7 separate regions of the Homo sapiens genome follow, and all the other regions are linked to region 1. The links are contacts of gene promoters, found by promoter capture Hi-C in human tissues and cell types (Jung and others, 2019). All regions are on one chromosome and are shown on one strand. The core of a region is centred on a gene start or on the middle of the fragment in contact, and the rest is flanking DNA. Distances in the headings are between cores, read along the strand shown. Region 1 holds the start of PEMT (phosphatidylethanolamine N-methyltransferase). Region 2 has its middle 12 kb from the start of DRG2. Region 3 overlaps MPRIP (myosin phosphatase Rho interacting protein). Region 4 overlaps FLCN (folliculin). Region 5 overlaps TOM1L2 (target of myb1 like 2 membrane trafficking protein). Region 6 overlaps COPS3 (COP9 signalosome subunit 3). Region 7 overlaps TOM1L2 (target of myb1 like 2 membrane trafficking protein).

What was found. Contacts are between HindIII fragments. The study calls those that stand out against the background at their distance.
Region 2: a contact is called between a fragment that was not itself captured here and the fragment with the promoter of PEMT in region 1, in 1 of the 25 tissues and cell types used here (hippocampus).
Region 3: a fragment that was not itself captured here is called in contact with the fragment with the promoter of PEMT in region 1 in 1 of the 25 tissues and cell types used here (dorsolateral prefrontal cortex).
Region 4: a contact is called between a fragment that was not itself captured here and the fragment with the promoter of PEMT in region 1, in 2 of the 25 tissues and cell types used here (dorsolateral prefrontal cortex and pancreas).
Region 5: a contact is called between a fragment that was not itself captured here and the fragment with the promoter of PEMT in region 1, in 2 of the 25 tissues and cell types used here (dorsolateral prefrontal cortex and neural progenitor cells).
Region 6: a contact is called between a fragment that was not itself captured here and the fragment with the promoter of PEMT in region 1, in 1 of the 25 tissues and cell types used here (dorsolateral prefrontal cortex).
Region 7: a fragment that was not itself captured here is called in contact with the fragment with the promoter of PEMT in region 1 in 1 of the 25 tissues and cell types used here (dorsolateral prefrontal cortex).

What each region holds. Positions count from the first base shown.
Region 1 is chr17:17,589,749-17,593,578 of GRCh38, reverse strand. PEMT (phosphatidylethanolamine N-methyltransferase) reads left to right here and starts at 1,871. Exons shown (of 7, transcript NM_148172.3): 1 at 1,871-2,048. The coding sequence starts at 1,953. RefSeq lists enhancers at 1,730-2,119, 1,685-2,426. The HindIII fragment of the contact is 9,919 bases long and covers 1-3,286 here.
Region 2 is chr17:18,074,293-18,078,122 of GRCh38, reverse strand. No RefSeq gene overlaps it. Among named protein-coding and RNA genes, the nearest start is that of DRG2, 12 kb to the left of the region's middle. The HindIII fragment of the contact is 4,809 bases long and covers 1-3,830 here.
Region 3 is chr17:17,180,460-17,184,289 of GRCh38, reverse strand. All of the region lies in intron 23 of MPRIP (myosin phosphatase Rho interacting protein), which reads right to left. Among named protein-coding and RNA genes, the nearest start is that of PLD6, 24 kb to the left of the region's middle. The HindIII fragment of the contact is 4,078 bases long and covers 1-3,724 here.
Region 4 is chr17:17,208,565-17,212,394 of GRCh38, reverse strand. FLCN (folliculin) reads left to right here. Exons shown (of 14, transcript NM_144997.7): 14 at 1-183. Among named protein-coding and RNA genes, the nearest start is that of PLD6, 4.1 kb to the right of the region's middle. The HindIII fragment of the contact is 3,855 bases long and covers 110-3,830 here.
Region 5 is chr17:17,926,268-17,930,097 of GRCh38, reverse strand. All of the region lies in intron 1 of TOM1L2 (target of myb1 like 2 membrane trafficking protein), which reads left to right. Among named protein-coding and RNA genes, the nearest start is that of TOM1L2, 44 kb to the left of the region's middle. The HindIII fragment of the contact is 3,577 bases long and covers 303-3,830 here.
Region 6 is chr17:17,267,930-17,271,759 of GRCh38, reverse strand. It overlaps COPS3 (COP9 signalosome subunit 3), which reads left to right. Exons shown (of 12, transcript NM_003653.4): 3 at 752-864; 4 at 953-1,002; 5 at 3,783-3,830. Among named protein-coding and RNA genes, the nearest start is that of COPS3, 11 kb to the left of the region's middle. The HindIII fragment of the contact is 3,862 bases long and covers 1-3,810 here.
Region 7 is chr17:17,897,659-17,901,488 of GRCh38, reverse strand. TOM1L2 (target of myb1 like 2 membrane trafficking protein) reads left to right here. Exons shown (of 15, transcript NM_001082968.2): 3 at 2,815-2,893. Among named protein-coding and RNA genes, the nearest start is that of SREBF1, 63 kb to the right of the region's middle. RefSeq lists an enhancer at 3,686-3,735. The HindIII fragment of the contact is 3,262 bases long and covers 101-3,362 here.

The DNA of each region.
Region 1 (3,830 bases), core at 622-3,121:
ACAAAACAGGAGTGACCAGTTAGGTCAGAAGACTGGAACATCAGTGAAGTGGATGTGTGGTAGGCGGAGGGGAAAGACTTGCTAGAAGCCCTCCCGCTGCGGGGGGCTCCTTCAGAAATGGCTCTGCCTCTAGCAGCTCTGCCTGGACACTGAGCAGGGAAAGGGTCCCGACACTCATTAGTAACAGTGGTAAGTCAGAGAACCAGCCCTGAGCCTGTGTCCCCAGCCCTGCCGGGGGCCAATGCCTACTGAGCACTTCCCACAGGCCAGTTCCTGGGTGATGAGTTTTACCAACATGTATTTCCCTTTTACTTTTGAGGAAAATGAAGGTGGGCTCAGTCACAGAGATAGTGCATGCTCCAAAGCCAGTGTCTTTCCTGTCTCCTCGGTTGGCCTGCCCCATCCTAGCGATGTTGTGAAGATTGGGACTACCTCTAAAGCAGCACACAGTGGCTGCTCAGTAAATGCTCAACACTGGTAGGTGCTGTGGGCCAAGGTGGAGAGAAACGGGCCATCTGGAGCAGGAAGCAGCTGACTGCAGAAGTCCTGTCTGGGCCCCCAGCAGTCTGGGTGACTGAGCAAATCTTGGAACCTCTCAGTCTATTTCCCCATATTACATAACACCTGGCTACAAAAGGGCTTTTTTCTTTTTTGAGAGGGAGTCTCGCTCTGTCGCGCAGGCTGGCATGCAATGGCACCATCTCCGCTCACTGCAACCTCCACCTCCTGGGTTCAAGCGATTCTCCTGCCTCAGCCTCCTGAGTAGCTGGGATTACAGGTGCGCGCACCACACCCGGCTATTTTTTGTATTTTTAATAGAGACGGGGTTTCACCGTGTTAGTCACGCTGGTCTCGAACTGCCGACCTCTGGTGATCCGCCCACCTCGGCCTCCCAAAGTGCTGGGATTACAGGCATGAGCCACCACACCCGGCCTACAAAAGGGGTTCTTCTGGGACCCGATCGTCTAAACTCTTCTCCATTTGACCCCCTCCATCACTACTCCACAGCTCACCGGTCTTTTCTCTGTTCCTTAGGTGCCCGTCCTGTCTCCAGGCCTTTGTACATACCATTCGTCTTGCCTTGTTTGCCCTGCCCTCACACTTGGCACATCTGGCACCTCCCCTGCACATTCTAAGACAGCATCCTTCCGTACCATTTGACCCACCCCGTTTTTTCCACCACAGTACTCATCCATATTATAACCCTTTATTCACATTTTGTCTTTTATCTCAGTCAGGAGGAAGCGAGGGCGGGGGACTCTGTGTTGTTCCCTACCGTACCCTCAGCGCACAGTCTGGTTCAGAAAATACTCGAGAGTGAATGAGAGAATGAATGAAGGAAAAAATGAGTGGAGGAGGGGTCTTTGGCCGAGCTAAAGAGCCTGGGCGCCGCGGGGGCGGGAAGCTCTAGGCAGTGCTCGTCGCGCACCGCCCCCAGAGTAAAGCGAATTTCAGAAGAGGGCGTGGGGCCCTGGGCGTGTGGGGCCCTGGGCGTGTGTGACCCGGGCCAAGTCCAAGTCCGCAGGAGGCTGCGCGGGAAGCTGCTTATAGCTACGACCCGCGGCCCCCGGCCTCTAGCCCCACCGCCGCCAGGCAAGGGCAGGGACGCCAGGTCAGTTACAGGCTCGGGTGCGGCAGCCGGCGACCAAAGGCACTGGGCGGGAGGCCGGATCCAAGGGGATACTGCTACGTAGCTGCAGCGGAACCGGCAGGCTCTGCGGCGAAACACACTGGGACTTGTAGTTCTCGGCTCCTCTAGACGCTGTCGCGAGCCCCCAGATAAAGAGGCACTTCGCGGTGACGGGGAACTACATTTCCCAGAAGGCCGGAATATGTTGGGGGTCACCGGGAAAGCGCCCCGACTGGCGGCACTTACCCGGCTCTATAGGTCCGGTTCCGGGGGCGCGTGGCTGCAGCGGGGCCCGCGTGGTGCCTCCTGAGGCGGCCCCCGGATGAAGAGATCTGGGAACCCGGGAGCCGAGGTAACGAACAGCTCGGTGGCAGGGCCTGACTGCTGCGGAGGCCTCGGCAATATTGATTTTAGACAGGTACTGACCGCACCGGACCGCCGCGGAAACTGGGAGAGGGATCTGCAAGGCCCGAGGGGCGTGAAGGCTTGCGGCGCCTCAAACGCTGCGGGGCGGGGCCGCCAGTTCCCAGGCAATGGGGGCGTGGCGTGGCGGGGGTGGGGGAGCCGCGTGCGGGAGCGCCGGCTGGTGTCTGTGTGTGTGCGTGTGCGCGCGCGTGTAAACCTCAGATTGCGTGTGTCAGAGACGGGGGCGTTCCTGAGCTCGTCTGATTGTGTGCCTGTGTGTGGCCCTGAGATTGTGTGAGACTCAGAGGTTGTCCGTGTTAGTCTTTGGGATTGTGTCTCACTGAAATTATGTGATGCTCTGAGAGTGTGCCGGAGAGTGAGTGTGAGTGTGTATGACCGAGGCTGTGTGTGACTGAGCGTGGGCGAGGGTGAAGGAGGCCGATTATATGTTTGGGAGTGTGTTGTGTGGCCCCTGCTCCCGTCCATCCCCCAGGGTCAGGAGGCCAGCTTTTGCCCAGAGGCAAGAGAGTGGTGGGGACCCTGCCTGTCTCCCAGCCGGCCCTGGGCAGGCTGCAGACCACCACCCAGCCGTTTCGGGGCCATAATGGGTGCGACCGGCCCCAGAAGCTGGGGGCCTGGCTTGCCTGCTGAGGCTGCCCTCTGCAGAGTCCTAGGCCAGAGAGTGCCTGTCCTGGCATCTCCCCAGGCTCCCAATTCCAATGGATTCCAATTTCCAACCTCTCTTGCATTCTCCCTTCTATCAAAGCTTCCTCTTAGATGCTCCATTTACCTTTTTCATCACCCACTCTTCATGAAGCCTGTAAGGCACATCTCTGCCCCAAGCAGCTTCTAATCCAGTTCTTTCGCTCCCTTCATTCCTTACTCACATGTGCATTTATTCACTCACTGATCCAGCCAGTATTGATTCAGGGCCGGCTGAGGGCCTCGTGTCACTCAGAAGTTTAAGGGCACTTCTGTCACTGAGCTTTCATTCTAGGGAGGGAGATTGTAGGCCTGGAAAGCCAGAGAGTTCTCTGAAGGAGCTAATACCAGTTAGTGTTTTGAAGAGTAGCTGATGGGAAGGCGGGATTGAAATCCCAAGAGAGCCTGTTGCCGTATCTGCGAGGGAGGGACCTGGGATCTGAGAGCCGAAAGGTCAGTCAGTGGGGCAAGATTCCCCAGAGGAGGGAGGCAGTTGCGAAGCCCTCCAGGAGGCACAGGAGGAGATGGGCCGCTGGCCCTGAGGGAGCGCAGGACCGTTGGCCAGATGGGTGCTCAGCAGAGGACAGGAAGAAGACTATTACTTTAGTAAACTGTCCATTGAATTACAACATGCAGTCAGATGAGTGATGGGTCCTACCCCTACAGCTCCTGCATTTTCACCAGGTGAACCTGTATCTGTTAATCCTCAGATCAAGATGGGGGGTCATGATCACCTCCAGGGGCTGCCCTCAGAAGCCACCGTGTAGAAGGGTGGGTGGGGGAGCCATGTAGAAGGGGGGGCAGAATGCAAGGGGGCAGTGTCCCTTTGCAGACCCATCTAGGGGCCTGCCCCAGGGCCTGCCAGTGGGCAGGGGAGACTAACCGGGTGTGTGAGGGGTGGGCTTCTCTGCTCTTTCTCCTTTCTCCCCAGGGCTGTGCAGCTGGAGAGAGCTGGGGCTGGGGTTCGGGTCAGGGTGACCCTTGTTGACTAACATTCTGCTTTTCTTCTGCTGTCCTTGTTGGTGCAGTTAAGCTTCCTGTTGCCAAGGGATTTTTCTTAAAGAAAGAAAGAAAGAAACATACAACATACAAC
Region 2 (3,830 bases), core at 946-3,445, 480 kb before region 1:
GGCTAATTTTTGTATTTTTAGTAGAGACTGGGTTTTGTTTGTTTGTTTTGTTTGTTTTTTGAGATGGAGTCTCACTCTGTCACCCAGGCTGGAGTGCAGTGGCGCGATCTCGGCTCACTGCAACCTCTGCCTCCTGGGTTCAAGCGATTCTCCTGCCTCACCCTCCCAAGTAGCTGGGACTACAGGCACGTGCCACCACGCCCAAATAATTGTTTTTTATTTTTTTTATTTTTAGTAGAGATGGGGTTTCACCGTGTTAGCCAGGATGGTCTTGATCTCCTGACCTTGTGATCCACCTGCCTCAGTCTCCCAAAGTGCTAGGATTACAGGCGTGAGCCACAGCACCCAGTTGTTTATTTGTTTTAAATAGAGACAGGGTCTCACTACATTGCCCATGCTGGTCTCAAACTCCTGGGCTCAAGTTATCCTCCTGCCTCGGCCTCCCAAAGTGCTAGGATTTGTATATTTTTTTTCTTTTTTCTTTTTTTAGAGAGTCTTGCTCTGTCGCCCAGGCTGGAGTGCAGTGGCGCAATCTCAGGTCACTGCAACCTCCGCCTCCTGGGTTCAAGCGATTCTCCTGCCTCAGCCTCCTGAGTAGCTGGGATTACAGGCGTGCGCCACCATGCCCGGCTATTGTGTATTTCTGGTAGAGATGGAGTTTTATCATGTTGGCCAGGCTGGTCTTGAATTCCTGACCTCAAGAGATCCACCCGCCTTGGCCTCTCAAAGTGCTGGGATTATAGGCTTGAGCCACGGCACCTGGTCCTAAAGTGCTAGGATTATAGGCACGAGCTACTGCACATGGCCGAGACCGGGTTTTGCCATGTGACCCAGGATGGAAAAAGGAGCATTTTAATTCTAATTGATGCACACTTTATTGAAGCTGCAGTAACCTCAGACGTCTGGAGTTGGGGTAGTGTGTAGGGCTGTTTGTCCTTTTGAACCTAGTCGTGTCTTCTGTGATGAGTTAACATCTGAGGGTTTTAGAGAAAACTTCTGGGCTGAAATCCAGAAAACAAAGCCAGTAGACCTCCTAAATGCTGTCTTCATTCTTACAGGAAGCTTCAGGCCCCAGCCCTTATGGAACACGGTTAGGCAGAGACAATTGCACGGGGGCCCTCTCTAGGTGCATTGGAGGGATGATTGGCCTCAGGTGGCAGCAGGGAATGGCTCTGTGGTACACCCAGGGTGACCAGGCCCCAGAGTTCCTAGTCTTTTTGTTTGTTTGTTTGTTTTGGTTTTTTGAGACAGAGTCTTGCTCTGTCCCCCAGGCTGGAGTGCAGTGATCTCAGCTCACTGCAAGCTCTGCCTCCTAGGTTCACTTCATTCTCCTCCCTCAGCCTGCCGAGTAGCTGGGACTACAGGTGCCCACCACCACACCTGGCTAATTTTTTGTATTTTTAGTAGAGACGGAGTTTCACTGTGTTAGCCACGATGGTCTCGATCTCCTGACCTCGTGATCCGCCCACCTTGGCCTCCCAAAGTGTTGGGATTACAGGCATGAGCCACCGCGCCCGGCCAGGAGTTCCTAGTCTTGGGAAATGGCAAATATTCTTGGCCCCCAAGAGTGGTAGAAGTTGCCATTTAGATGGGAAAGGAAAGGGGTCTGGGCAAGGGGCCCTTGCATGGTAACTGGAGAGACTAAAGATGAGAAGGATCTCTCCAGAGCTTCAGCACCTACAGCCTGAGACACTGACACGAGGCCCTTTTGTGACCAGGTGAAGGGAGAGTCCCAATAAGAAACACTCAGGTGTCATTTTCTGCAACCTTGGCACGATGCAGGCTGTTAATCTGATTTGAGATAAGGAAAATAAAGTTAATGGAGTAAGATTCCTCCCCACTAAAGAGATGAGCAGCATGGGGTCCAGGAGCATGCATGGTGGACCCTAATACAGAGTGGATGGTGCAGGCAGAAACATCAGGAAAAATGTTCTGGGGAAGATGGTTCCCTTAGAGAGTAAGTCAGGCCAAGGTCAAAAAGTGGGAATGAGCAGGGCTGGGGGGATTTCCTGTGGGCTCTGCCTGGGGGCTCTGCAGGTCTGGCAGCATCTCCAGCAAGCCAGATGGATGCTGGACAGGTCACAGAGGACTGGTCACACCTGAGGTTCTCCTGAGGGGTCTGGATTTGATCTTGTGGGCAATAGGAACACTTTTAAGGTAAAGAGAGGTCTGACCAAATTTGAATGTGAAAGCTTCTCCCTTTCCAACTTTCTATTTTTATTTATTATTTTGTTGTTGTTGTTGAGACAGGGTCTCACTCTGTCACCCAGGCTGGAGTGCAGTGGTGTGATCTCAGCTCACTGCAACCTCCACCTCCTGGGCTCAAGAGGTCCTCCCGCCTCAGCCTCCCTGGTAGCTGTGACTACAGGCATGCACCACCATGCCTCGCTAATTTTTGTATTTTTTGTAGAGATGGGTTTTTGCCATGTTGCCCAGGCTGGTCTCCAACTTCTGGGCTCAAGTGATCCTCCCACCTTGGCCTCTCAAAGTGCTAGTATTATAGATGTGTGAGCCACCAAGTTCAGCCCCAATTTTCTAGAATTCTGATTCCATCCATCCTTTGAGCCCACCAAGATCTCCAATCCATTGGTGCTACCACCTTCATCCCCTTGAAGTCCTCTCTCCCTCCGTATCCAGCTTGAATTCCATGGTCTTCACTTACTTCACTCCCTTGCACACACAACAACTCCCTGACTCTTCACTCACCTGTACTTGCAAAACCACAGGCCTCTTCCTACTCTGCACCTGCACCTGGGTTGGGAACATCCCCATGCTTGCTTGGGGCATGCTTGACTTCCGCATCCATCCACTCTTCCTCTCCTGGACAACCATCTCGTGCCTTCTTTCTCCTCAAAGGCCCAATACCTCTCCCCCTATCCTCATCCTCAGGAGGGTTGTCTACCTTGCTCTCAAGCTCACTAAGAACCATTGAAGAAATGAGACAAGAACTTCCACAAACTTCCAACTTGCCAGCATTGGCATGGCTGCTTGTTCCCAGAAACAAACTCTCAGTGCTTCTACCTGAGCCATCCCTGTCCTACAGCTTGAACTTTGCATTCTGCTGTGTCATTTTCAACAGCATACAAATATGCTGTCACACCTCCCTTCGGAAAAGTAAGCAAAACTCCTTCTCTTGCTGGTCTGAATTTTCTAGTTTTGTACAATGCATCCCTACTGTTTCTGAATTAATGGATGGTTTTTAAAAATATTTTTGATTCAACTTTTTTTTAAGCATAATTTACTTGCAATAAAACACACCATTCTCCAGTGCATAATTCAATGAGTTCTGACAAATGCATAGGGCGATGCAGCCACCCCCACATTTGACACACAGAACATCTCTATCACTCCAGAAACCACCACCCCCCCGCACTCAGTCCTCACCCCAACTCAGCCCCAGGCTGCCACCCATCTGCTTTCTATCACTACCAGTTAGACTCATCTTTTCTACAACTTCATCTGAACGGAATCACACAGCATATCGTCTTCTGTGTCTAGATTCCTCTGCTCAGCATAATGTTTCCAGATTCATCTGTGTTGTATCGCTATAGTACATTTCTTTTTATAAGAAATGCTGAGAGGTGTTTCATTATATAGCTGTACTATAATTTATAATAAATGGTTACCTAGAAATTCATTAAAATTTGGCAATGGTTCCTTGGATATGACACCAAAAGTACAGGCAACAAAATGAAAAAAAAAATAGATAAATGGGATTATATCAAAAAGAAAAACTTTTGCCAGGCGCGGTGGCTCACGCCTGTAATCCTAACACTTTGGGAGGCTGAGGTGGGCGGATCACGAGGTCAGGAGATCGAGACCGTCCTGGC
Region 3 (3,830 bases), core at 436-2,935, 410 kb after region 1:
TCAGAGGCCTGTGAGTGTTATGGGGATGTGGGAACACGCCAACGTATCTAGTAAGATTTTCAAAACATAAAACCAATACTCTGTTCACGTGGAATCTTGCTAAAGCTTAAATCTGTATGTCCAGAGATGAATGAGATCTTACTAACTAGGGGACAGAGTATTTCCCATCTCATTCTTACAGACTTTCCTCAATGATTTAATTTCTGAATAAGAAAAGGAAGAGCACTTTTCAGAGAATGACTGGAAATGAAGGGCATTCCAGTACTGACTGGAAAGTGCTGTGGCTCTTCACTTATCTCCCTCTTCACGCTAAGTGTCGCCATCACACTCAGCCCTGCTGACTCCCTGTGGCTTACCCTTGCCAGAGCTGGTGCAGGTACAGGCTTTACTGAGAAACTGGAAGCTGAAGGGATGGGCTCTAGCTCAGGGTCTGCCTGATTCTACCAGTTTCAACCAAAAACCTGAGCAACGTGAAACTGCAGGCTGTACCCCATCTACTGGGAAGTCGCCAGCTTAGGCTCAGGCACACTCTGGCACTGTCCTGGAGACTCTGGTGTGATAGACTGGGGACTGAGCATGGGCTGGTCAGCTTGAGGCTCCCTCCAAAGCTCAAGGGAAGGGGGAGCTCCACTGTCCCCCACCCCACCCAGCTCTACCCAGAACAGACCTGCTTGTTTGCTATATTCTGGAGCTATGTGTCTGTGTAAATAAATAAACAATGTGATTTTTAAATACAGGGTTCTGCTGCTAAGCATTTTAAAACTCACTGGTCCAGGCCGGGCGCGGTGGCTCACGCCTGTAATCCCAGCACTTTGGGAGGCCGAGGCGGGCAGATCACGATGTCAGGAGATCGAGACCATCCTGGCTAACACAGTGAAACCCCGTCTCTACTAAAAAATACAAAAAATTAGCTGGGCGTGGTGGCAGGCGCCTGTAGTCCCAGCTACATGGGAGGCTGAGGCAGGAGAATGGCGTGAACCCGGGAGGCGGAGCTTGCAGTGAGCAGAGATCGCGCCACTGCACTCTAGCCTGGGCGACAGAGCGAGACTCCGTCTCAAAACAAACAAACAACCTCACTGGTCCAGGTGAGCCTCACCTCAAGCAGTTGTCACAGCTTGATAATTGTGTGTTTCTGAGAGGGTTTCTTTGGAAGCCTGCCACAGAGAGTGGCTGGGGGAATGGGGGGAAAATCCATCTCCCATTCTGAGCCCAGATGTACCTCAACACCCATGCCTGCTTCCAGGTGCCCTTGGGGGGTCCCTCCCCACAGAGTGCAGGGTTCTCACAGCAGTCAGTCTTGCAGAGGACCTGGGTAGACATCTGGTCACCATTGAAGGGGCTGGGGCCAAGCCAGGCAGGCAGCCCTGAGCCTAAGTGCTACTCAGAGGCAGGCCCCGGAGCATGGCTGGGGGATGTCACTGACATCCCGGTTCCTGCTTGTTGGGGACTTTCTGTCAGGACTGTAGTGAGTTTGATCACTCCTAAGGCCTGGGTTTGCTCCTTGCAGGCACTGCGTCAGAAGCCCCAGATTCCTGCTACAGCAGGCCCAGGGGAGGGGAGCGCCCTGACAGCCACAGCACCCAGCATGCTCGCTACTGGCTCCTGCCCCAGTGACAAAGGGCAGAGCTCAGGCTCAGGTGATGCTGGGCTTGCTACAATTCCAAGGGTGGGAAGTAAGTGAAATCCCCTACGTTATTCCCACACTGGCTGCAGGAGGCTGTTTCTCTCTCTACGTCCTCTGGATTCTCTCCCGGTGGCTGCTCAGCCCAAGGCTCAGCCAGCTCCCTCTGGGGTTCATCTCCCCCTAGGCTGTTGTCTCCACTGAGTGCCTCCTGTAGCCCCACATACTGAGCTGACCACAGACACGGGGGCCCCTTAAGAACCCCGAGGGAAGCATTCTCTGGTCTCAATCCCAGAAAAGGCTGTGCTGCTCCTAAGCAACTTGCTGTCTTTGATTTTGTAGCAGCTGAGACTTGCGGTCCTTTCGAGCGAGGCAGGACAGAAAAACAGAACAGAACAAAAGACACAGATCAGTGCACATCAGATGCCACATCAAAAAACACCACTGAGAAGTACGGTTTCTGGGCAACTGCATTTCCATCTTCTTGAAGGGTTGGGTGGAGTCTTCAGATACAGTTGAGGAAAAGGATGACACCCACCCATGCCTGTGCCTCCTAATGTCTCCTGGGAGCGCGAACACGGCCCCATCCTGCCCTGTTGCACCACAGACATCTAGGAAGTCCTCGACTTTCTGCTGGGGCCAGCAGGACTAGCCCTGCACTCCAAGGATTTTTATTACGGAAACCCAGCCAAGCCAAACATCAACTTAAAAACACATAAGGAGGAGGACCCCATCCTGGGGTTTCTCTCCATCCTTTTCAGTCTGCCCTGGGGCCCAGACAGTCTGCTCCCTCATCCCTGCTCTGGCTGGTTCCCAGCCACTGTGAGAGGCCCCCACCCACTCACTGCACAGAGTTACTGTCAGGGGCCCGTGGGTGTTGCACAGCCTCCCTGGAAGGGTCCTGTCAGTGACAGCCGGTCCCATGTCACTTATAGACATGGTCCAAAAGCCCAAATCACTAATAGTGAACTTCAAACTCCTTCAAGAAAAGCTCAAAGATACTAGCTACAGTTTAGCCTCAAATAAGTAGTAGAATCTTCAGTAAGAAAACCGTGAACCAAAAAAGAACAAGTTTCCTTTTGCTAAACAAAACGTTATGTTTAAAGAAAAATGCCCAAGCTAAGTTTTCAATCAAGCCTAAACCATATTTGGGTATAGGGGACTTAGAACTGTAGAAAAATAAAACCAAACTGACTAGGCTTAAAACCTTCAACTCTTTAACCAAGCCTCAGGATGAAGTCCTTCGGACGGCGGGGTGCTGTGGGTGTGCCTGAGAAAGGGCCAGCATGGGGAGGAAGACGTGGTTCTTGCTTTCCTCCATGTTCTCATTCCGGGATGAACGAGATCAAGCTACTGAGCCGGCAACTACTCATTCTCAGGGTGTCTCCCACCATGGGCCCTCCCCCACCTCCTCTCTGGCATAGGGCCTTCAATGGCACCTAGTGAGAAGCTTTTGTTTTATTAAAAAAAAAAATACTGGTAAATATTTCGCCCCTATTGCTTGTAGTTATCACGCTCTTCTGAACCATCTTCACCAAGCTCTAGTCCTGGTTTATCCATTCCTAGAATGACCACCCTGTTAGCCTTGACAGACAGAGGCCACTAAGTGGCTCACTAGGTGGGCGAGGCCTTTGGTGACGGTAGACTTCACTTGCCAGTGTGGACATCTGTAAATTCCACCTCGTGACAGAGGGCAAGACAAGTGTCCCCTGAGGGGGTGGAGTGAGTTCAGCCGTTGTGCACAGATTATCCAACATGCATGCTGATGGGTGCCTGGCTCTCTGCCTGCCCACCAGGCTAGAGGAGCACCTCACTGCCAGGGTCATCTCTGTTAAGAGGTTAGAGTGCCAATTAACTCCCCAGAGCAGGTTAAAGAAACCTCACTTGGATTTGGTATGTGTTTGTTGGAGCAGGATGAATTGAAATAAAGTAACCATGACACAGGCGTTTGCCATGGGGGTGTGAGCAGTGCATGCAGGCGGTGGGAGAGGCGGTTTACCTCCTGCATGGGCCGGGAAGCGGGTGCATTTCAGGTATCCCACGAGACCTGCTCAATTACGGACTGTCAGAGGAGAGAGCAGACATGAGACACACAACCAATCCCAAACACACGCGGTGCCGCTCCCACCTCCGCCCGCCCTCCTGTGCATGGCTGGCTCTGGACAGCACACTAAAGATGTACTGCTTCCTGGCTGGGGAACAAGAGCAG
Region 4 (3,830 bases), core at 788-3,287, 380 kb after region 1:
TACAGGTACCCCCCACTATACATTTTTAATAAGGATTCATGGCTCAGAGGGATTTTCTGATGGTTTTGCTGATTTGTTTCTAGTTTTTTTGTGTTTATATTTAACATGAAGACCAAGTTTATATAACTAGGTATCTGTATAATGCAACAACATTGGAACACAATAAAGATGTATTTTTGTAAATTGTTACTACATGGTTTTATTGGTTTGATGCCTACTATTTATTTGCGCTCAGGCACAGGAAATACTATGGTTAAAAAATACCAGTGAGTCAGCCGGGCGCAGTGGCTCATGCCTGTAATCTCAGCACTTTGGGAGGCTGAGGCAGGCGGATCACGAGGTCAGGAGATCGACACCATCCTGGCTAATACGGTGAAACCCTGTCTGTACTAAAAATATAAAAAATTAGCCAGGCATGGTGACAGATGCCTGTAGTCCCAGCTACTCAGGAAGCTGAGGCAGGAGAATCACTTGAACCCGGGAGGCAGAGGTTGCAGTGAGCCAAGATCACACCACTGCACTCCAGCCTGGGCAACAGAGTGAGACTCCATCTCAAAAAACAAAACAAAATACCAGTGAGTGGCCAATTCGCACAGTTAAGCTGCTATAATGATCGTAGACAATCTTCTCCAAGTTAGTCGTTGGAGTTGGTGTTGGAGAGAAGCAAACACTCATTTATCCCAAGGACATCTGTTGAGTACCTATGCCCATGTGCTTTTCATTTTGTTCAGCATTAGAAATGGCTCATCCCTTAATAATGATGATATTTAAAAGACATGTCCATCTGAGAGGAAGATGGCTGGAATCACCCTGGGTGACCGTGGCAATCCCTAAAACAGCAGGTTCACGGTTTAGTCATCTACCTCGAGTGGGAGGGGACCCCCTGGCCAATGTGGGTCAAGGGAGAGATGACCACCCACTGTCCTCCCCGGCTTCGGGTACAGATTCCTGTCTTTCTCTCGTGCATGGCATTCCTGGGAACGTGGTTCTATGCTCAGTTTTTGCCAGTTGTCTGCCAGTCTAGTGGCTGAATCCACTTGGCAAGTAGGAGCCCAGTGTAAGTTAGCTCTGCATTCACTTCAGGGGCATGTGTGACCTGGATTTCCCATGTCTAACAGAGCTTGCTGGCGAGGGGGCAGGCAAGGCCCTATGCCGACTGGTGGTTTTGTTTTTGTTTTTGTTTTTTGAGACAGAGTCTTGCTCCGTTGCCAGGCTGTAGTGCAGTGGTGTGATCTCGGCTCACTGCAAGCTCCGACTCCCTGGTTCAAGCAATTCAGCCTCAGCCTCCCGAGTAACTGGGATTACAGGTACATGCCACCACACCCGGCTAATTTTTGTATTTTTAGTAGAGATGGGGTTTCATCATGTTGGCCAGACTGGTCTCGAACTCCTGACCTCGTGATCCGCCCGCCTCGGCCTCCTAAAGTGCTGGAATTAGAGGGGTGAGCCACCGCACCCAGCTGCCAACTGGTGTTTCTAGGCAGCTGTGGGCTTTTTCTCCCCACAGGCATGCAGTTCTTGAAGATTTTTCCTATTGGTCATGAGTGCAGAAGAGCAGGAGGCTGAGCTGAACCTATGCCAGCCCAAGACCAGGCCAGACTCTGCTGTCCTTGTGAGGGAATAGGGGTTCCTGATTTTGTAGCTTTTCACAAAATGGAAGAGACAGAAAACAAGTTCCAGATCTTGAACCTTCCCCATGTGTTTGAAGGCAGTCAAGGGTTTCCTGATTTTACATTCAAGATACTTACACTCAGGGCCGGGCATGGTGGCTCACGCCTGTAATCCCAGCACTTTGGGAGGCCGAGGCAGGAGGATCACCTGAGCCCAGGAGTTTGATACCAGCCTGGCCAACATGGTGAAACCCCGTCTCTACTAAAAATACAAAAAAAAAAATTAGCCAGGCTGGTGGTGTACGCCTGTAGTCCCAGCTACTCAGGAGGCTGAGGCAGGAGAATCACTTGAGCTCTTATATATTGTGGAAATTAACCCCTTATCTGATAATATAGTTTGTATAAGCTTTTAAAAAATAAATTGTATATATTTAAGGTATACGACATGATGTTAATGACATACACACACATATTAAAATGGTTATTATAGCCAGGCACTGTGGCTCACACCTGTAATCCCAGCACTTTGGGAGGCCAAGGTGGGCGGATCACCTGAGGTCAGGTGTTCGAGACCAGCCTGGCCAACATGGTGAACTCCCATCTCTACTAAAAGTACAAAAATTAGCTAGGCGTGGTGTCAGGCACCTGTAATCCCAGCTGCTCAGGAGGCTGAGGCAGGAGAATCGCTTGAACCAGGGAGGTGGAGGTTGCAGTGAGCTGAGATGGCCCCATGGCACTCCTGTCTGGGCAGCAAAGCGAGACTCTGTCTCAAAAAATAAAAAATAAACACAAACGGCCAGGCACGGTGGCTCACACCTGTAATCCCAGCACTTTGGGAGGCCAAGGTGGGCGGATCACCTGATGTGAGGTGTTCGAGACCAGCCTGGCCAACATGGTGAAACCCCGTCTCCACTAAACATACAAAAATTAGCCGGGCGTGGTGGTGGGTGCCTGTAATCCCAGCTACTCTGGAGGCTGAGGCAGGAGAATTGCTTGAATCTGGGAGACGGAGGTTGCCGTGAGCCAAGATCACGTCACTGCTGACAGAGCAAGACTCCATCTGAAAAATAAATGAATAAAAAACTAGGCCGGGCACGGTGGCTCACGCCTGTAATCCCAGCACTTTGGGAGGCCGAGGAGGGCAGATAGTGAGGTCAGGAGATCGAGACCATCCTGGCTAACATAGTGAAACCCCATCTCTACTAAAAATACGAAAAATTAGCTGGGCGTGGTGGCGGGCACCTGTAGTCCCAGCTACTTGGGAGGCTGAGGCAGGAGAATGGCGTGAACCTGGGAGGCAGAGCTTGCAAAGTGAGCTGAGATCGCACCACTGCACTCCAGCCTGGGCAACAGAGCAAGACTCCGTCTCAAATAAATAAATAAATAAATAAACTAATAACTAAATGTTGTAACACAAAAGAGGATAAATGCTTAAGGTGATGGATATCCTGTTTACCCTGATGTGATTATTACAAATTGCATGTCTGTACCAAAATATCTCATGTACCCGATAAATATATATACCTACTATATACCGACAAAGTTAAAAATAGAAACTGGAAGACAAAAAATAAATAAAAATCAAATAAAGCTTCTCATTTTGTTGTCTGCCTTTGGTAGATTTCCAGCCCTGAAGTGGCTGTTTTTGAAAACTGTTTTCCCCCAGTTTTATTTTTGTTTATCCCTCTCTGGAGGGATTTGAGTCCTTCTTTATACCTCCACAACTCCAAGTCCCTCCTCTCATTATCGTTTTAGATGAGGAAAGTGAAGCTCAGAAGAGATGAATCAATTTGCCCTAGACCATGCAGCTAGGAAGCCTGGGAGCCAGCACTAAACTCAAGTGTTCTTTTTCTTTGTTAAGAATTTTATTCGCCAGGCACGGTGGCTCACACCTGTAATTCCAGCACTTTGGGAGGCCGAGGCAGGCTGATCACGAGGTCAGGCGATCGAGACCATCCTAGCTAACACGATGAAACCCCGTCTCTACTAAAAATACAAAAACAAAAATTTAGCCGATGTGGTGGTGTGCATTTGTAGTCCCAGCTACTTGGGAGGCTGAGGCAGGAGAATTGCTTGAACCCAGGAGGTGAAGGTTGCAGTGAGCCGAGATCGTGCCACTGCACTCCAGACTGGGCGACAGAGCGAGACTTCATCTCAAAAAAAAAAAAAAGAAGGCCGGGTGCGGTGGCTCACGCCTGTAATCCCAGCACTTTGGGAGGC
Region 5 (3,830 bases), core at 842-3,341, 340 kb before region 1:
ATGGAGTGTCTTTTTTGTTTTGTTTTTGGAATGGAGTGTCTTAACCATGGTGCTCTTGCCTTCCTGTGTGTGCCCAGGCATGGGCTCTGTATCTCTGCTAGTGGTCTTCATAAAGACACAGAGACAGCCCTCCCAACAGAGCTGTCACTCACTCTCTGTAGTACCTCACTCATCGCAGCTGCCTTGCTGTTGTGGAAATTCATGTTGTGTTTAACTTGTCTAAGTGTTCATACCAACAGTCACAGCTAAAGCTCTAGGGCAGAAGTGGTATCTGACTGAGGCCAGGGATTGGTGAATAACCTGTTGAAAGTGTGTGCAGAATTGTGTGTGTAATTCTCTGGAAAGGTCTTATCAGATTTTCAAAGGGAATGTATTCTTCCTTTAACATCTTATCCAAAAAGTTAACTACTGCTCTGAAAAATGACAGTCTATGGATTTCTTCCTGACATTCTTTTTTTTGTTTTTGAGATGGAGTTTTTGCTGTTGTTGCCCAGGCTGGAGTACAATGGTGCGATCTCGGCTCACCACAACCTCCGCTTCCCGGGTTCAAGCGATTCTCCTGCCTCGGCCTCCTGAGTAGCTGGGATTACAGGCACATTCCACCACGCCTGGCTAATTTTGTATTTTTAGTAGAGATGGGGTTTCTCCACGTTGGTCAGGCTGGTCTGGAACTCCCGATCTCAGGTGATCCACCTGCCTCCCAAAGTGCTGGGATTACAGGCGTGAGCCACCACGCCCAGGCTCTGACATTCTTGAATATCCCTATCAACCCCTCTCACCCACCCAAAGCCTGCTGCTCAAAGCAGCTCTAAGCAGAAGAGATGGAGAAACATTCAGACTGGGTGGAGCATGGCCCAGGCTGTGTTGCTGCCCACTTCTGTCTAGATGGGCAGTTCTTGACTTCCCCGCCTGACGCTGCTGAGCAGCCACAGTCCCGACTGCATTCTGGCTTGTACCCTTTACTATAGTGCCAGCCACAGAGAGCAGCCATGCAGCATTTTTAAGTAGCCAAGGAAAGGCCCGTTCTCACAGCAGTGCTTGGGGAATCTTCAGACTTGGTATTAGGAACCATAGCAATGAGACTTGTTACAAGCTTGCAAAACAAAATGGGATTTTTCTGTGTGGTCCAGCAAGGATCTAGACAGAAAGTCTGCTTGATTTTGTTTTGCCTTGCTGGCTTCATAAACCCACGTAGCAGAAGCACTTTGTGAATCAGAAATGGAAGCATTGTTCTCTGATACTGAGGAATGCCTTTCCTGAATGGCTACTGTGGGTGGGAATAGCTCTAAAGAAAAAAAAAATCCTGAGACACAGACAGCAGCTATTTATGTTCTATTCTGTTTGACACACATTATTGAATACCTACTGTGTGCTGGTAAAATTCATGGTGCATCAGGGAAGGCAGGTCCATGAGGAACCATTAGACAAGCAATAGGGGCTGGATGAGCCTCAGCAAGTGAGGACTGTGAGATCCCAGAAGAGTGCAATTAATTCATCTCGTGTGTGCATGCTCACGCGGGGGCCGTCTGGGGCCCTCACTGAGAGGAGGCAACGAGCTGAGTGTTAAAGGGAGGGTGTCGCCTTCTGTGTTCTCTTTTGACCCTTTCCATTATGTGAGCATGCATTTTTACCTTGTGGTGATTAGTATGCACATAATATTTTATCCTGCCTGTTTTCCTCTTAGCATTCCTATGCCGATTTCCACTTAGCGACTAGGCTGAAGTATTTATCATTTTAAAAAGCCACGTAGCGTTTTTGCCTTATTGATGTACCCTCGTTGCTTAGCCATCTTCTCGTTTGTTGGGAGCAGCAGTGTTTTTCTCAATTATGCATCTTTGCAGAATCAGCTCTCCCCTTCCCCCTTATTTATTTCCTTAGGGGGCTATTGCCGGGTCAAAGTTATGAATGGTTTTATGCTGTCTCCTACTGATTTTTTTTGTTGTTACAGAAAATTTCAGACATATACAAAAGGAAAAAGATGACTATAATGAACCCCCACATACTCATCATTGAGCTTCTACAATTATCAATTCATGGCAGTTTTGGTTCATCCATAGCCCCACACACTTTTATCCTGGATTATTTTTCAGTAAATCCCAGACATCATATAATTTCATCTATGAATACCTAAGTATGCATTTCTAAAAGATAAGGAATCTTTTTAAAAGTATAGCTGACTGGGTGTGGTGGTTCATGCCTGTAATCCCAACACTTTGGGAGGCCTGGGTAACATAGTGAAACCCTGGCTGTACCACGAATACAAAAATTAGCCAGGTGTGGTGGCACATGCCTGTAGTCCCAGCTACTCAGGAGGCTGAGGGTGGGAGGCTCACTTGAGCCTGGAAGGTTGAGGCTGCAGTGAGCCAAGATTGTGCCGCTGCATTCCCAGCCTGAGTGACTGAGTGAGATCCTGTCTCAAAAAAAAAAAAAAAAAGTATAGCCAACAGCTTATTATCATATCTAAAATAAATTAATCATAATCCTTAATATCATAAAATATCTAGTCATCCAACTGACAGTTTAAGATTCCCTAGTGTTTTCTGTGGCCATTCTCACGAGGCCAAATGTTTATTTGCTCCACCATGTTCTTCAGGGAATGTTTCCCTTGATGTATCACATTGAGGTTGAGTTCTTTATCAAGAAAGGTCTGCATGCAGGTCCTGGCCTCAGAAAGAGATGGAGGGAAAGAAGAAGGGATAAAGAGAGGCCTCTCTCCACAGCCTCTGCAGCTGGCCTCATGTGGTTTGCGCCACATAGGGTGGTAGGTTCTCTCTGCCCGTTACTCACATGGTAAACCCAGCTGTGCTGCTTTATCCACATACCAGCTTGACTTGGTACAGTGTGCTGAAAATAATGTCGGGCCTGTCCCTTTGGACTCCACCCCCATTGAAGAATGCAGTTTCATGCTGTTGGTTTTTTTAGTGCTAAAGAAACTAGATAGATACTGTGTTTATTTTTCTACAGTAAAAATCCGAAAAGCTAGGAAAATGCCTATTCCCTGTTGGATTTTGATCTTATTTGCATGTTTCCCTTGGCAAGCTTTGTTTCGTATTATTCAAGGTGACCCACTTAGAACTACTGTTTAAAGTCACATTGTCATTAATAAGTTACACAACCTGTGTGTGATAAGTCTGTTAGCCCTGAATATTGTATAAACAGGAATACATGCTTGTGTTGGGGCTCTTCTTCATATTTAAATATGGTTACATTTCTTTTTCTTTTTCTTTCTTCCTTTTTTTTGAGACAGAGTCCCTCTCTGTCGCCCAGACAGGAGTGCAGTGGTGTGATCCTTGCTCACTGCAACCTCTGCCTCCCAGGTTCAAGCGATTCTTGTGCCTCAACCTCTCAAGTAGCTGGGATTACAGGCGTGTGCTACCAGGCCCAGCTAATTTTTGTATATTTTGTAAAGATGGAGTTTCACCATGTTGGCTGGTCTTGAACTCCTGAGCTCAAGCAATCCGCCCGCCTCGGCCTCCAAAACTGCTGGGATTACAGGTGTAATCCATCACACCAGGCCCAAATATGGTTACATTTAAATGTAATCTTCCCTGTTTGTTCTCACTGTTGATATTCGTGACCTTTCTATGTTGATGAATAGGAGTAATTTCCCAGATGATCTAGAACCCTATTGTATTTGGCTTTGGAATGTGAAACACGTGTACATTTATGTCCGCATCTCCCCTTGTGCCAGTCCAGACTGGCTCTCAGTTTGGTCCTCCTTAACTAGCTGGGTACCCTGGGTGACCTCCTTTGGGACAAGGGAGAGTTAGCAGGGAGGCCTGGTCAGAATAAAATGCCTTTTGAGAGATATTGGGGTTACCAGGCTTTTA
Region 6 (3,830 bases), core at 630-3,129, 320 kb after region 1:
CAACCTCCACCTCCCGGGTTCAAGCAGTTCCTCAGCCTCCCGAGTAGCTGGGGTTACAGGCATGCATGCACCACCACGCCCGGCTAATTTTTTTGTATTTTTAGTAGAGACGAGGTTTTTCCATGTTGATCAGGCTGGTCTCGAACTCCCGACCTTAGGTGATCCTCCCGCCTTGGCCTCCCAAGGTGCTGGGATTACAGGCATGAGCCACTGCGCCAGGCCTAAACATATTTTTCTTAACCCTTATTTGTGTCCGTTCTGTATAGTGATTGTGCAAAATAACCAGGTCAGGAAAATCTCATGGATTCTAGTTCTTATTTATTTGTTTTTTGAGACTGGATCTTGCTCTGTCACCCAGGCTGGAGTGCAGTGGCATGATCATAGCTCACTGCAGCCTCAACCTTCTAGGCACAAGTGATCCTCCAGCCTCAGCCTCCCAAGTATCTGCAACTACAGGCATGTACCCCCACGCCTGGCTAATTTATTTTTTGTAGTAGAGACAGGGTCTCACCATGTTGCTCAGACTGGTCTCAAACTCCTGGCCTTAAGCAGTCCTCCTGCCTCAGCCTCCCAAAGTGCTTGGATTACGGGCATGAGCCACTGTCCTGGCCTAGTTCTTAATTCTAAAAAATACTGTTGCTCATTTAATTTTACAGAGTATTGGAGGCAGGATGGATTTCTTGCATACATTGTTTCTGTATTTTATCCCATGAACTATCAGGGTAATTTGATTCTTTTCTCCTTATTCTAGGTTTGTGAAGTTTTCTATGCCCAGTGTTCCTGACTTCGAAACGCTATTCTCACAGGTTCAGCTCTTCATCAGCACTTGTAATGGGGAGCACATTCGATATGCAACAGACACTTGTAAGCTAAATAACATTTTATTCTCCATTGAAAATATTTTGCCCTTGTGGTTATATTTATATTTTGAATATTTTGTTATTGTATCTAGTTGCTGGGCTTTGCCATCAGCTAACAAATGCACTTGTGGAAAGAAAACAGGTAAGAAATACTATTCAAGTATTCCTAGTTTTGTTATAATATGTAACTAGCTTACACAATGAATTACTTTATCAAGATTCCAGTTAGTACTGAGCATCCACCACCTAGATATCTGTGGTCACTTGAGAGCACTCACAGCCATTGCTGTAAGCTCAGGCAGTCCCCGCATCCCCTGAATGAGGTGGAGGCACGGGGTGGTTTGGCACCTCAGGGAGGCTGCTGCTGGAACTACCAAGTAGTTGGAATTACCAAGCCAGTACCCTTTATGTTGTAATATGCTGGGTTTTGTCTGTTACATTTTTTCTTTTAACTTTTAATTAGGACATTATTTTAGCCTTACAAAAAGCTTCAAAAATAATATAAAAAATTCTCATACATTTTACCTAGATTTTCCAAATGTTAACATTTTACCGCACTTATTCTTTTTTTTTTCTCTTCCTCTTTTATTCTGAGCCATTGTAGAGTAAGTTGCACATATGCTATTGCTGTTCTTTATCCCTAAATACTTCAGTGGGTAAAGCCTAAAAATTAGGACATTCTGTTACATAGTATAGTGTAATGGTCAGCATCCAGAAATGAACTCTTACTGTTTTTTTTTTTGGAGACAGAGTCTCGCTCTGATGCCTAGGCTGGAGTGCAGTGGCGCCATCTCTGGTCACTGCAACCTCCACCTCCCAGGTTCAAGCAATTCTTCTGCCTCAGCCTCCTGAGTAGCTGGGGACTACAGGTGCATGCTGCCACGCCCAGCTAATTTTTTGTATTTTAGTAGAGACGGGGTTTCACCATGTTGCCAGGCTGGTCTCGAACTCCTGAGCTCAGGCAATCCTCCCGCCTTGGCCTCCCAAAGTGCCAGGATTACAGGCGTGAGCCACCACGCCCGGCCCAGAAATGAACGTTAATATAATGCATCAACAAATTGACAGACCCCATTTAGATTTTCCCCCAGTGAAAAGGACTGTCTTTTGCTATAAAAGGACATTAGCTGTTTGGACAGTGTACTATATATTATATAGCAAAAGAAAACCGTGGACCATGGATTGCATTAGACTGCTTTGTTTCTTTAGTGTCCCTTAATCTGAACAGTTATTTCATTCTTTATCTTTTATAATACATAATTTATAATGTGGATTTTTAAAAAATTTATTTAGTTATTTATTTTTTTGAAATGGAGTCTCATTCTGTTGCCTAGGCTGGAGTGCAGTGGTGTGATCTCAGCTCACTGCAACCTCCACCTTCCAGCTTCAGGCGATTCTCGTGCCTCAGCCTCCTGAGTAGCTGGGACTACAGGCGCATGTCACCTTTCCCAGCTGATTTTTGTTTTGTTTTGTTTTTTGAGACAGAGTCTCGCTCTGTCACCCAGGCTGGAGTGCAATGGCGCAATCTCGGCTCACTGCAACTTCCGCCTCCTGGGTTCAAGCAGTTCTTCTGCCTCAGCCTCCCAAGTAGCTGGGATTACAGGTGCCTGACACCATGCCCGGCTAATTTTTGTATTTTTAGTAGAGACAGGGTTTCACCATGTTTGCCAGGCTGGTGTCAAACTCCTGACCACAGGCGATCCGCCTGCCTCGGCCTCCCAGTGATTTTTGTATTTTTAATAGAGGTGAGGTTTTGCCATGTTGGCCAGGCTAGCCTCTAGAACTCCTGACCTCTGGTGATCCGCCTGCTTCAGCCTCCCAAAGGGCTGAGATTACAGGTGTGAGCCACTTCACCCAGCCAGGTGTTTCTTTTTAATTTGAAAGTAAATTTAAGATTAGTGGTTTGAAAGAGGCTGAAAATAGAACCAGTTGTTATTTTGTAGTACTAAGTAACCATGTTTGAAAGAGATGGTTAAGAAAAATCATGAGTTTTTGAAAAAGCTGTAAGTTATTGAGCTATTTTTAGTCTCTTCACATATATATATATATATTTTTGTTGTTGTTGTTGTTGTTGTTGTTTTTTTGAGATGGGGTCTTGCTCTGTTGCCCAGGCTGGAGTGCAGTGGCGCGATCTCAGCTCACTGCAACCTCCGCCTCCCGGGTTCAAGCGATTCTCCTGCCTCAGCCTCCTGAGTAGCTGGGACCACAGGCACATCCCACCATGCCCGGCTAATTTTTGTATTTTTAGTAGACATGGGGTTTTGCCATGTTGGCCAGGATAATCTTGATCTCCTGACCTCATGATCCACCCATCTTGGCCTCCCAAAATGCTGGGATTACAGGTGTGAGCCACCGTGCCCAGCAATTTTGGAAGAGACTATATTTTAGTCTGCCAAAAACTGATTATGCCTTACTTGACACTTGGTCTTCTTATTTATAATCAGGGCAGGAAACAGTCCTTTTGAAATCTATGGTGTTAGTTTTGGTAGTAATTTACTACCAGGTAAGGGGTAGACTGCCCTATGGGAAAATGCCAACACCCTTAGCCACAAGTAATTTTCCTAAGCATAGGCTGTTGTCTCTTGTATAATAAGTGATTTGGAAAGTTTTCATTTGTTTAGATGTTAATATAATAAACTGTTGAGAAAGTAATACTGTTTTTGATTATTGATCTTCATTGTAAAAATAAAAGCTTTTTATGATTTAAAAAATGGTGCTGAGTTATCTAAAAATTCCAAGAAACAGCTTAAGAAAAGTTTTCTGACTTAAATGGGACAGAAATTTCCTGAAAGAGTATGGAAACCTCATATTGCTATTTAAAGGAACCTATCAATTAGTGTTATTTTTTATTTATAAGTGACAACATAAGATCCAATGTGCTGCCATCTTTGAGAACTTATCTGAAAGAGATGTCATTTCTGACAGCCCCTGCGAGGAATTGGCATCCTTAAGCAAGCCATAGACAAGATGCAG
Region 7 (3,830 bases), core at 482-2,981, 310 kb before region 1:
TTATAAGTCTAGGGTCCAGGGAGACTTTGAGGAGCCTGATCATGGCCCAGAGGCCAAATCACGAGGCTGTGAGCACTGCCTGAGGAGCCTGACCTTTCCCCTGAAAGCTGCTAGGGCTTGATGCCATCTCAACACAGGCCACTGATTCTTCCTGATCCTTTCTTTCTGCTCCATCTTGGCTCTTGACACATGCTTCTGTCTCTTCTCCTGGTTTCCAACTCCACACTATCTAATCTGCTGCAGCTTCTTGAAACTTTGTGTTTCCTTTGACATGACTTTGATCCTCCTCTCTGAAGCTTTTCCCCCGGGGAGAGAGATAAATACTTGCTTTTGTGCTCACCCATCACTCTCGGCCAGTACTTCCCAGAGCCTATGGATGAATTTTCATTTTAAACCTCATCCAGGAAGCTGCTGACTGTCTGATTTCCCACCCCGTGGCCCCCACACCAGGAGAGCCCTGAGTGTGCTGGTCCTCTGCCAGCCAGAAATGATTGCAGCCCTCAGGCGCTCTTCCTATTTTCCTGTTCCATGGAAGTTCAAGAGGACAGAAGAGAGGACTGAGGGGTGTGGCAGCTGTGGGTCAGGGACAGCAGTGGTTTGGCAGAGCCTTGGAGAGAGGAAATCAGTCCATGCTGTTGGCCAGTAGCCACTGAATTTCATCAGCTCTCATGCCACAAACAGCCTTCAAAGCAGAGAGCCGGTTAAGTCCCATATTTGCAGAAATCAGCATCCCCTTTTGGAAATGGCAGCCGTACTGCAGACATACTTGGCCTTGGGCCCAGTCCCCATGGAGCCTTGTGTCTGTCTCATCAGCCCTTTGACCCAGGGGCCAAGAATTCCTACAGGGCAGCCATATGTCAAGCTGGGAATGGGAAACAGGTGATTCAGGGTGTTTTAAAATTTTCTTCTAGTAGCCTTGCTCCTTAAACTTTTTTTCTTTCTTTCTCTCTTTTTTTTTTTTTTTTTTGAGATGGAGTCTTACTCTGTCACCCAGGCTGGAGTGCAGTGGCATAATCTCAGCTCACTGCAACCTTCACATCTCAGGTTCAAGCAATTCTCTTGCCTCAGCCTCCAGAGTACCTGGGACTACAGGCACACATCACCATGCCCAGCTAATTTTTTTGTATTTTTAGTAGAGACAGGGTTTCACCATGTTGGCCAGGCTGGTCTTGAACTCCTGACCTCAAGTGATCCACCCATCTCGGCCTCCCAAAGTCCTGGGATTACAGGAATGAGCCATAATGCTGGACACACTTTCTCTTTTTTATTTTTATGGAGATGAAGTTTCACTCTTGTCGCCCAGGCTGGAGTACAATGGCGTGATCTCAGCTCACTGCAACCTCCGTCTCCCAGGTTCAAGCGATTCTCCTGCCTCAGCCTCCCGAGCAGCTAGGATTACAGGCAGCTGCCACCACACCCAGCTAATTTTTGTATATTTCAGTAAAGACGGGGTTTCACCATGTTGGCCAGGCTGGTCTCAAACTCCTGTCCTCAGGTTATCCACCTGCCTTGGTCTCCCAAAGTGCTGGGATTACAGACTGTGAGCCACCATGCCCGGCCCAGTTTCTCTTAAATTAAGCTGATTAGCAGAGCATCAACCCTTTCCCCTCCTCAACTTCCTCATACACATTTGAAGGGGCCTTTTCATTTGGTAGAGTATAAATGTTTTAAAACTGTAGGAATAGGAGATCCCTGACTTAACAAACGTGCAAGCTGGGAAAGACCAGTATATTGACACATAGATTAGTGGAAGGCTGGAACCCATGTGTGATTGCAAAGCGCTGGCCCACAGCCGGACTGAGGGCTCCCCAGAGCATAGGGTGATGGGTCAGGTCAGCACAGGGGCTTTGTGCCAGGGGCAGCTGCTAGGCCCACAGCTTTGTTGAATCCTGAGTTAGAATAAATTAAATTACATGTTAGACACAAGACCTACATGTAATATGTATACTTAGAGGGCTGCCTGGGAATCCTGACTCTAAGGTATAAGAGTAATTAAGGAAGAACTCACTCCAACTTCCAAACAGCTCCACTCCAACTTTTGGACAGAGCCCATTTGTGAACTGAGTACTGTCTATAATTCTGCAAGATTTTATCTGGGAATCCACCTCAGATCTGTCACCTAAAAACACAAAACTTGTTGGGTTTTAAGGAGACTCACTTAAGCTTTCTCTGGGAAAAGGAGTTCCATGGAATTCAGGAAGAGCCGGGCATCCAGGGCTCACAAGGACCTGGCACGCTCTCTTCTGTGTCTCTCATATGGTTTCTCTGGAAAAACTCTCTTCTATGTACCCACACACCAGTGGGTTAGTTAGGGTTTTGAATAAATAATACTTGCATGTGATACAGAATTCAAGAGGTCTGCAAAAAGGCAGTCCAGTGAAAAACCTCCCTCCGCCTTTGGTTCCCTTCCTTAGGGGCAGCCACAGTTACCAGGTTGTTATAGCTCTTTCTAGAGAGTCTCTTCCCTACGCTGGCACCTGTGCTATGTATGTTTGCTTTCCTTCTATAACTCAACTAATAGCAAGCTTTGTACACTGTTATGCAAAGAACTTTATGCACATGTCTTTGAGTTTGGTGTATATTGGTGCATGAGTTTCTTTATTCTTTTTTGCAGCTGCATAGTATTCCATTGTGTCAATGATTTAATTTAACCTGTTGTGTATTGATGGACATTCAGTTTGTTCCCAGTCTTTTACATTTACAAACATGCTGCAGCCAGCAAATAGTCTTGCATATATACTAGTTCACATATCTGTAGGATCGTGTCCTCAAGTGGGATTGTAAGTATCTTTATATGTCTGTTCTTTTTTCCAGGCCAAAGGATGCCATTCGAGCCCTGAAGAAGCGGCTCAACGGGAACCGGAACTACAGAGAGGTGATGCTGGCATTAACAGTGAGTGCTATTCTCCTTGAGGAGAGAAGTCATCTGGGGAACTCCTTGCTCCTGGCCTTGCCCCCCTCACAGGGCCTTCCCTCTGCCCACTTAGCACAACCTCTGAATGGCTTGGTGCCTGGGCCACTGGAGTCCAGCAAAGCCTTCTGGTATTGCCTTTGGGTTTTCCTGTCCTCTGAAACAGGGAGTGGTGAGCTTCAATTTGGTAAATGTATACGAGCAGAAGATAAGGTGTGTGCAGTGCTGTCAGGTACAGAAGCCCAGAGCAGAGGAGCTAAAGGTTTTGGGTGGGTCCCTTTTCTGTCACCAGCCTGCTCTGAGACTGAGACCAACTCCTTCTCTAGATATCAGTTTCCTCTTTGTAAAAATGTTGGCCAGGCGCGGTGACTCACACCTGTAATCCCAGCACTTTGGGAGGCTGAAGCGGGAGGATCTCAAGGTCAGGAGTTCAAGACCAGCCTGGCCAACATAGTGAAACCCAGTCTCTACTAAAAATACAAAAATTAGCCAGGCATGGTGGCAGGTGCCTGTAGTCCCAGCTACTCAGGAGGCTGAGGCAGGAGAATTGCTTGAACCCGGGAGGTGGAGGTTGCCGTGAGCTGAGATCGCACCACTGCACTCCAGCTTGGGCAACAGAGTGAGACTTCGTCTCAAAAAAAAAAAAAAAAAAAAAGTTAACTTCCACCTATTGAGTACCTGCCCCTGCCTGGGACTGTGCTGAACTTTTTGGACATTAATGAATATGTTTACAACCACCCTCCAAAAGAGATTTTACTATCCTCCCCCGTACAGATGATGAAACTGAGGCTCAGAGAGGTCTGGAGGTTTACCCAGCCTTCACAGCTAGTGAGGTGTACTGAGCTGTGGATTGCCATCATAAAGTGGTCTTTTGCATGGGGTAAAAACTGAAAATAGCTACAAAGACTCTTGAAAAAGT